2 separate regions of the Homo sapiens genome follow, and region 2 is linked to region 1. The links are contacts of gene promoters, found by promoter capture Hi-C in human tissues and cell types (Jung and others, 2019). All regions are on one chromosome and are shown on one strand. The core of a region is centred on a gene start or on the middle of the fragment in contact, and the rest is flanking DNA. Distances in the headings are between cores, read along the strand shown.

Region 1 (4,098 bases), core at 988-3,487:
GTTTGGGGCCTATACCAGCCACAGCTATGCAGCTTTGGGTATTATCCTTCAAAGTCTATCCCTCTGTAAAACGGGATTTCTGCCATCTTCCTCAACAAATAAGAAAGCTGGAATAGTCAATACCTATTTGATAGTATAAGACAAAAGATTCACTATCTGCAATTTACCAGAAACATTTCCTTCAATTTTCTTCTTAATTTCACTTGTTTAGGTACAACACAATATGAGACAATGTGTTTTAGGGTTATTATTATAATGACATTATATTACTAAGTCTGTGCCTTTAACATATCACTTGTGCAAACTTTAAGAATAGTAACTTTAAGGCCACGCACGGTGGCTCATGCCCATTATCCCAGCATTTTGGGAGGCCAAGGGAGACTAATCCCTTGAGATCTAGACCAGTCTGGTCAACATAGTGAAACCCCAACTCTACCAAAAATAGAAAAATTAGCCGGCGTGGTGGCATGCACCTGTGGTCCAAGCTACTCGGGGGGCTGAGGTGGGAGGATCATTTGAACCCGGGAGGCAGAGGCTACAAAGAGCGGAGATCATGCCACTGCACTCCACCCTGAGCGACATAGCGAGACTCCGTCTCAAAAACAAAAAAACATATATTAGAAATAATTACCAGAAATAGAAAATCACAAGAGATTATCTAATCCCGTATATGGGGCTACTATAAATAACCTCAGAATTTAGAAATAAGAAAAAAATATTAAAAGCCCCAAAATTAATAAAAAATCAGTTTTAGGCCAGGTGCGGTGGCTCACGCCTGTAATCCCAGCACTCTGGGAGGCCGAGGCGGGTGGATCACGAGGTCAGGAGTTCAAGACCAGCCTAGCCAAGATGGTGAAACCCCGTCTCTACTAAAAATACAAAAATTAGCCGGGCGTGGTGGCGGGCTAATTAGGTGGTGCCTGTAATCCCAGCTACTCGGGAGGCTGAGGCAGAGAACTGCTTGAACCCGGGAAGCGGAGGTTGCAGTGAGCCAAAATCGTGCCACTGCACTCCAGCCTGGGCGACAGAATGAGACTCCGTCTCAAACAAACAAACAAAAAAAGTTTTAGATGAGCTCTGCCAGTAGTAAACGGCTTGTAAAAGAAACCCGGTATCTGGTCAAGTCCTAAGTGACCTGAACCACGCATCTTCAGGACTCTACTGGGATGACTGTAACCTGAACGCGGTTCCTAGAGCAGAGCAAGCATATTCCTTGGACTCAGTAACACAAGGGGCCAGTCCTCTCCAGCATCCCAGCTGCCACCGCCCTGTCAGGCTCCCCAGGCAATTGTCCATCTTACTCCTTCTCCAGCGTGGACGCTTAAGGGGAGGGAGCATCCCTCCTCGAGGGTCAACTGGCATGTAGCTTACGAAGACCGCGTGAGTTCTCCAACCCCAGACTTGCTGCGGGGCGGGGACGTGGGGGTGACAAAATCCAGACTACGACCCTCCATGAGCCCTGGCAACCCCGGGGTGACCCCAACACCGATGAGGCCACGCGCGCTCCAGCTCTGACACTCCTTCCAGATCGGCGGGGCCTGAAACAGCGGGCTAAGCTTCACCTACGGCTGAGCGTCAGATTCAGCTGAGGAGATTCTAAAAGCGCTATGCTGGGCCCAGACCCAGGCCCTCCAGAGCAGAACGCGGAGGGGCCCGACCCCAGTCTGGTGGCGTAGGTGTGTGACAAAGTATGAGGGCGCGCCAAGCTCTCCAGTTCCACATCTGCTGTCGAGTCCAGCGCCTGCCACGCTCCCGTGCGGGGACCCGCCCAAAACTCCCTGGAAGCCAGGCGATTCAGACCCCGCCACCGCGTCCCCAGAGACTGGGCGGAAACCGGAGACTCGCCTCCCGAACCCGCGAAACTATCTCCCGCGAGACTGCCCCGCCCCAACCCCGCCCCGCAACTCTACTCCCTGATTGGCTGGAATTACGGCCGGATTCCGGAGTCCTTTCCAGCTCCCTCTTCGGCCGGGTTTCCCGCCGAATACAAAGGCGCACTGTGAACTGGCTCTTTCTTTCCGCCAATCATTTCCGCCAGCCATTCATCACCGATTTTCTTCATCTTCCCCTCCCTCTTCCGTCCCGCAGTCCCCGACCTGTTAGCTCTCGGTTAGTTAAGGGACTCGGGTCCTTCCGAACTGCGCATGCGCCACCGCGTCTGCAGGGGGAGAAGCGGGCAGGGGCGCAGGCGCAGTAGTGTGATCCCCTGGCCAGTCCCTAAGCACGTGGGTTGGGTTGTCCTGCTTGGCTGCGGAGGGAGTGGAACCTCGATATTGGTGGTGTCCATCGTGGGCAGCGGACTAATAAAGGCCATGGCGCCAGCAGAAATCCTGAACGGGAAGGAGATCTCCGCGTAAGCACCTGACATTGTTGTTGAGTGTGGGGCTGTGGACGAGGGCTCTGAGGGTGTGCAGGTCCCCCGGACCCATTTTTTGCGGGAGGGACACTTGTAGCGGAAGAGTTAGGCCCATAACACCTGAAGACCTGCAGCCAAAGAAAGAGAACCCGGGCACAACCTGCGTTTGCAAGTGGACTGCCTAGTGGCTGTAGCCGCTGGCTCCTGTGCTTCGGGGAAAAGTCCTGTGCCGACTATGCTCCCAAACGCGCAGCTGCTGGTGACTTTCTGCCGGGAGAGTGGGTAGTTGCGGCTTCCTGGAGCCCCCCTAGTCAGAACTCAGAAATCCAATCTACTTAATTCCCGTTAATTTGGAGGTGAGTAGATGGAGACTAGTGAGGTGACAAGGCTTGACAAGACTACAAGGCTGATAATGACAGAGGGTCCTTCCAGCTCATAGCTTTTCCCACTATACCATAGTCTTATCATACGCTAAGTGAAATCTAATACATTTTTCCTTTCTCTTCAATCTCGTGCTTCTCTCTAACAGCCATCTCTCTGCCCTGGTCCTAGAGTTACTTGAAACGTAATTTGGCTCCTGAGTCCTGAGAATATTCTGCATTCCACTTGACCTCTGCCTGTTCTACCCTTGCGGGACATCTGAATGCTTAATTAGTGGGTATCGTTGCCAGCTTTACTCCCAGGAAGTAACACTGGCTGCTTTTTGTCTGGGAGGTGACTGGTGAGGAAAAATGAGAGTAGAAGGAAGAGGGAAAAATATATTCCCTCTAGTAGATGAAGGAGGGAAAGATATATTCTGTGTGACCTTACTGAGTTTGCTCTTGGGACCTTTCACATCACCCGTTATGTAAGTAACTGTTGCCAGCCACAGCAGTTACTAAATTGTAATTGTCCTGTAACTCCTAACTTTGTAATAGGTTTTTGAGTGAATTACAAAGTCATCGGTGGTGAAAAGTCCGGGCCCAGTGGCTCATGCCTGTAATCCCAGCACTTTGGGAGGCCGAGGTGGGTGGATCACCTGAGGTCTGGAGTTCAAGACCAGCCTATCCAAAATGGTGAAACCCCATCTCTACTAAAAATACAAAAAATTAGCCGAGTGTGGTGGCAGGCATCTGTAATCCCAGCTACTTGGGAGGCTGAGGCAGGAGAATCACTTGAACCTGGGGGGCAGAGGTTGCAGTGAGCTGAGATGCGCCATTGCACTCCAGCCTGGGCAACAAGAGCGAAACTCCGTCTAAGAAAAAAAAAAAAAGAAATCACAATACTTACTGCTTAGTGCTTTTCAACATGTGGCTTGCTAAACTGTATTTCTGCTTTACTTTCTGTTTTTGTTTGCTTGTATTCAAACTTACTTCCTTTTCCAGTGGCTTTTTGTTTTAATATAAAAATCTTCCTTTTAGAAAGACTGATTGTGAAGAGATAATTTAGTGCATAATAATAGTGCAGATAATTTAGTACAATAATAATGCATCTGGGCCAGTACTGAGAATAGGTGCTCACTGAATATACTTTCGTTAATTGGAGAGCAAATTAAATATGTTTATCAACTCCATAAGGGCAAATACATGTATTGTCTTATTTTTGTCTATATCCTAAACACCTGGAAACCCTGTTTCCTGCCTTACTACTTGTGTGGTTTTAAGCAAATTAATTAACCTTTCTGTGCCAAAGTTTCCTCAAATGTTAAGTAAAAGTAATGTCTAGGTCATTGGGATGTTAGTAGAATTAAATGGGTTCCTAAC
Region 2 (3,832 bases), core at 1,213-3,712, 670 kb before region 1:
AAAAGACCCTAGAAGCTGTGGGACAGAGAAAGAAATGTACTCTTCTTTTCATGTTTCTTTTTTTGAGACAGAGTCTTGTTCTGTCAGCAGGGTTCAAGCAACCTCTGCCTCCCAGGTTAAAGCAATTCTCCTGTCTCAGCCTCCCAAGTAGTTGGGACTACAGGCACCTGCCACCACACCCAGCTAATTTTTGTATTTTTAATAGACACGGGGTTTCACCATATTGGTCAGGCTGGTCTTGAACTCCTGACCTCAGGCGATCCGTTCGTCTCGGCCTTCAAAAGTGCTGGGATTACAGGCGTGAGCCACAGCACCCAGCCTAATTTCTGTATTTTTAGTAGAGACAGGCATGGTGGTGGGTGAGCCAAGATCGTGCCACTGCACTCCAGGCTGGGCAACAGAGCAAGACGCCATCTCAAAAAAAATACAAAATTAGCCGGGTGTGGTGGCACACACCTGTCATCCCAGCTACCCAGGAGGCTGAGGTAGAAGAATCACTTGAACACAGGAGGCGGAGGTTGTAGTGAGCCACGATCATGCCACTGCACTCCAGCCTGGTGACAAGAACAAGACTTCGTATCCAGAAAAAAAAAAAAGGAATTAGTAATAAGGACTTATAAACTCAGGAAAACGTGAATTTCAAACACAAGTATCGTGCTCCATAAAAAAGAGGCAAGCCAATTCAATTTTTTAATAAACTGTGTTTCTTTCCAGAATTACCATAGTGATCAATTTTTCTTGGATCTTGCAGCCTCCTCTGGTCTTTACTGTGACCTACTTTTGTAACTCTTACTTTTTGCCTTTCTTCCATTTATCTTTTCATGACCTCACAGATATCTTCTTCTATTATTTACAGTAAACAACATTTTGACAGAATATTCTTATGTGTCTTTCTTTTCCAAAGCTCTTACTATGTTTATCAAATTTTTTATTTATATTAGGTGACAAATCAGCATTTGATTTCAGTCAACATCTTCATACATGTTTAAAACACAAATATTTGTGGATGTTGCATATGTATGTACATACACAAACACAAATTATCTTCTCAAGGTATATAAAAGCTATTCTCATATTTTAAGAATACAATCATATATTTCAAAAATAATATTACTGCAAGCATACCTTAAAAATCACACACAAAGTGTGATTTAAAATGAATTTTCTATATAAGCTGCTGAGTCAGTCTGAGCCCCTGACACTTACTGGCTAGGTTACTTTGCTTAAGTTACATAATATAACCTCCCTGTACCTCAGTTTCCTCATCTGTAAACCCATGCTAGTAATAGGAACATTGGGGTATTATAGAAGAGTAAATGAGATAAAAGACATTTCAAACAATGTCTGATTCATAGTAAGTGCTTAAAAATATATATTAACAGCTGGGCGCAGTGGCTCATGCCTGTAATCCCAACACTTTAGGAGTCCAAGGTGGGCAGATCACAAGGTCAGGAGTTAGAGGCTAGCCTGACCAACATGGTGAAACCCTGTCTCTATTGAAAAAAAAAAAAAAAAAAAATTAGCCGGGCGTGGTGGGGCGTGCCTGTAATCCCAGCTACTCAGGAGGCTGAAGTAGGAGAACTACTTGAACCCAGGAGGCAGAGGTTGCAGTGAGCCAATATCGCACCACTGCACTCCAGCCTGGGCAACAGAGTGAGACTCCATCTCAAAAAATAAAAAATAAAAAATAAAAATATTAACAATGCTATAACATTATTATTATAAAATATAATTATTATAATAAAAAGTAGTAAAAGCACACAAAATGAAAGACTAGTTGGCAATGAGTTGTCTATAAAGTAAGTGCTACAGCTAATTTTTAGCAGGGCAAGGTGGCTGACGCCTGTAATACCAGCACTTTGGGAGGCCGAGGTGGGAGGATCACTTGAGCTCAGGAGTTCAAGACCAGCCTAAGCAACATGGCAAAACCCCGTCTCTATAACAAACAAACAAACAAACAAAATTAGCTGGTGGTAGTGTGTGCCTGTGGTCCCAGCTACTTGGGAGGCTGAGGTGGGAGGATCACTTAAGCCTGGGAGGTCGAGGCTGCAGTGAGCCGGAATCGTGCCACTGTACTCCAGTCTGAGCGACAGAGTAAGACCCTGTCTCAAAAAAAAAAAAAAAAAATTAATCTAAAACCTTCTAATTAAATAAAGTATACAGTTAAAACTGATTACATTCCATATTATTTAAAAATTAAATTAATTCAAGTCAAACAGAGCTTTAAAAATTAAGAAATTTTATTTTTGAAAAGAACATGCAAACATAAATGGAAAAGGAACGTCATATTGTTTATCTTATTCTTCAAAGGACTATTTATTGTCTTTATATCAGATGCTCCTTATTTCTTAATTTTTTTTCCAATTCAGGCTACAAAAAATTCCAATGAATAATATGAGAGCAATAACCATTATCCTAGGCAATGGATCTCAAGTTATTTAATCCTTGGGAAAAGGTCATAACATTTTCTATCCTCCATCACCATAAAATTTATATACAAAACTCTTTAAGTAATTACTTGGAGCTATACTATTCCAATCTCTCCTTTGTCTTATAACGTACCTTAAAAAAATTCAGGCAGGGTGCAGTGACTCACGTCTGTAATCCCAGCACTTTGGGAGGCTGAGGGGAGTGGATCACGAGGTCAAGAGATCGAGACCATCCTGGCCAACATGGTGAAACCCCGTCTCTACTAAAAATACAAACATTAGCCGGGGGTGGTGGTGTGCGCCTGTAGTCCCAGCTACTGAGGAGGCTGAGGCAGGAGAATCGCTTGAACCGGGGAGGCAGAGTTTGCAGTGAGACAAGATCACACCACCACACTCCAGCCTGGGTGACAAAGAGAGATTTCGTCTCAAAAAAAAAAAAAATTCAAAGACTGGAATTTCAAAGAAGCTGAGACAGCAATCTTGAAGAAATACAACTAACTCCTCACTCATCTAATGGGTCAGAATCTCTGGGAAACTTACCCTGGGAAATGTAGAAATCTGCATTTTTAAACAACCCCGAGTTTGTACGCTGTCTTTTTTTTTTGAGATAGGGTCTTGCCCTGTCATCTAGGCTGAAGTGCAGTGGTGCAATCACACCTCACTGCAGCCTCAACCTCCCAGGCTCAAGTGATGCTCCCACCTCAGCCTCCCTAGTAGCTAGAACTACAGGCATGCGCCACCATGCCCAGCTGATTTTTGATTTTTTTTTGCAGAGACAGGGTCTCGCTATATTGCCCAGGCTGGTCTCCAACTCCTGGGCTCAAGGGATCCTTCCGCCTCAGCCTCCCAAAGTGCTAGGTGTACAGGGATGAACCACTACACCTGGCCATATACTGTCATTTTAAGTGTAAGTGAGGAATAATGAAACAGAAAGGATTAATTTAAAATGCTCTGGGTGGTGAATCTTGAGCAAATTTCAATGAGGGCAGAAACATTAAGTAGTAGGTAGTAGTGAAGTAGTAAAGCCAAGACAAAGGAATGGTATAGAACTCAGTTTCAAGAGATGTTTCAGCACGCCAGGCATATATAAGTAACCATACCTGTCCCAAATAAGCAGCTGAGGCACAGCAGATAGGCAAGACTGCCAACCAAAACTTATTAGAAAAACACCAGGCTTTCATTATTTAATTCTTCCCCCAGTTTCTAGGGGAAAGGCTTTCTATATAAGCCTCCAATGCAGTACAATACTAATTCACAGAGTAGAGGACCCAAACAGCTGAAGCAAAGGAAGGTACTTTTGTTTTCAATAGATAACAAGGATCTTTAAAAAAAAAAAAAAAAAAAAAAAAAGGAAAAGGAAAAGGAGGCCAGGCGCGGTGGCTCACGCCTGTAATGCCAGCACT

Evidence for each region. Contacts are between HindIII fragments. The study calls those that stand out against the background at their distance.
Region 2: a fragment that was not itself captured here is called in contact with the fragment with the promoter of MTHFD1 in region 1 in 1 of the 25 tissues and cell types used here (dorsolateral prefrontal cortex).

What each region holds. Positions count from the first base shown.
Region 1 is chr14:64,386,116-64,390,213 of GRCh38, forward strand. It overlaps MTHFD1 (methylenetetrahydrofolate dehydrogenase, cyclohydrolase and formyltetrahydrofolate synthetase 1), which reads left to right and starts at 2,238. Exons shown (of 28, transcript NM_005956.4): 1 at 2,238-2,353. The coding sequence starts at 2,313. RefSeq lists enhancers at 1,301-1,400, 1,421-1,480, 2,001-2,090. The HindIII fragment of the contact is 7,460 bases long and covers 1-4,098 here.
Region 2 is chr14:63,720,863-63,724,694 of GRCh38, forward strand. All of the region lies in intron 1 of SGPP1 (sphingosine-1-phosphate phosphatase 1), which reads right to left. Among named protein-coding and RNA genes, the nearest start is that of SGPP1, 5.3 kb to the right of the region's middle. The HindIII fragment of the contact is 5,155 bases long and covers 1-3,832 here.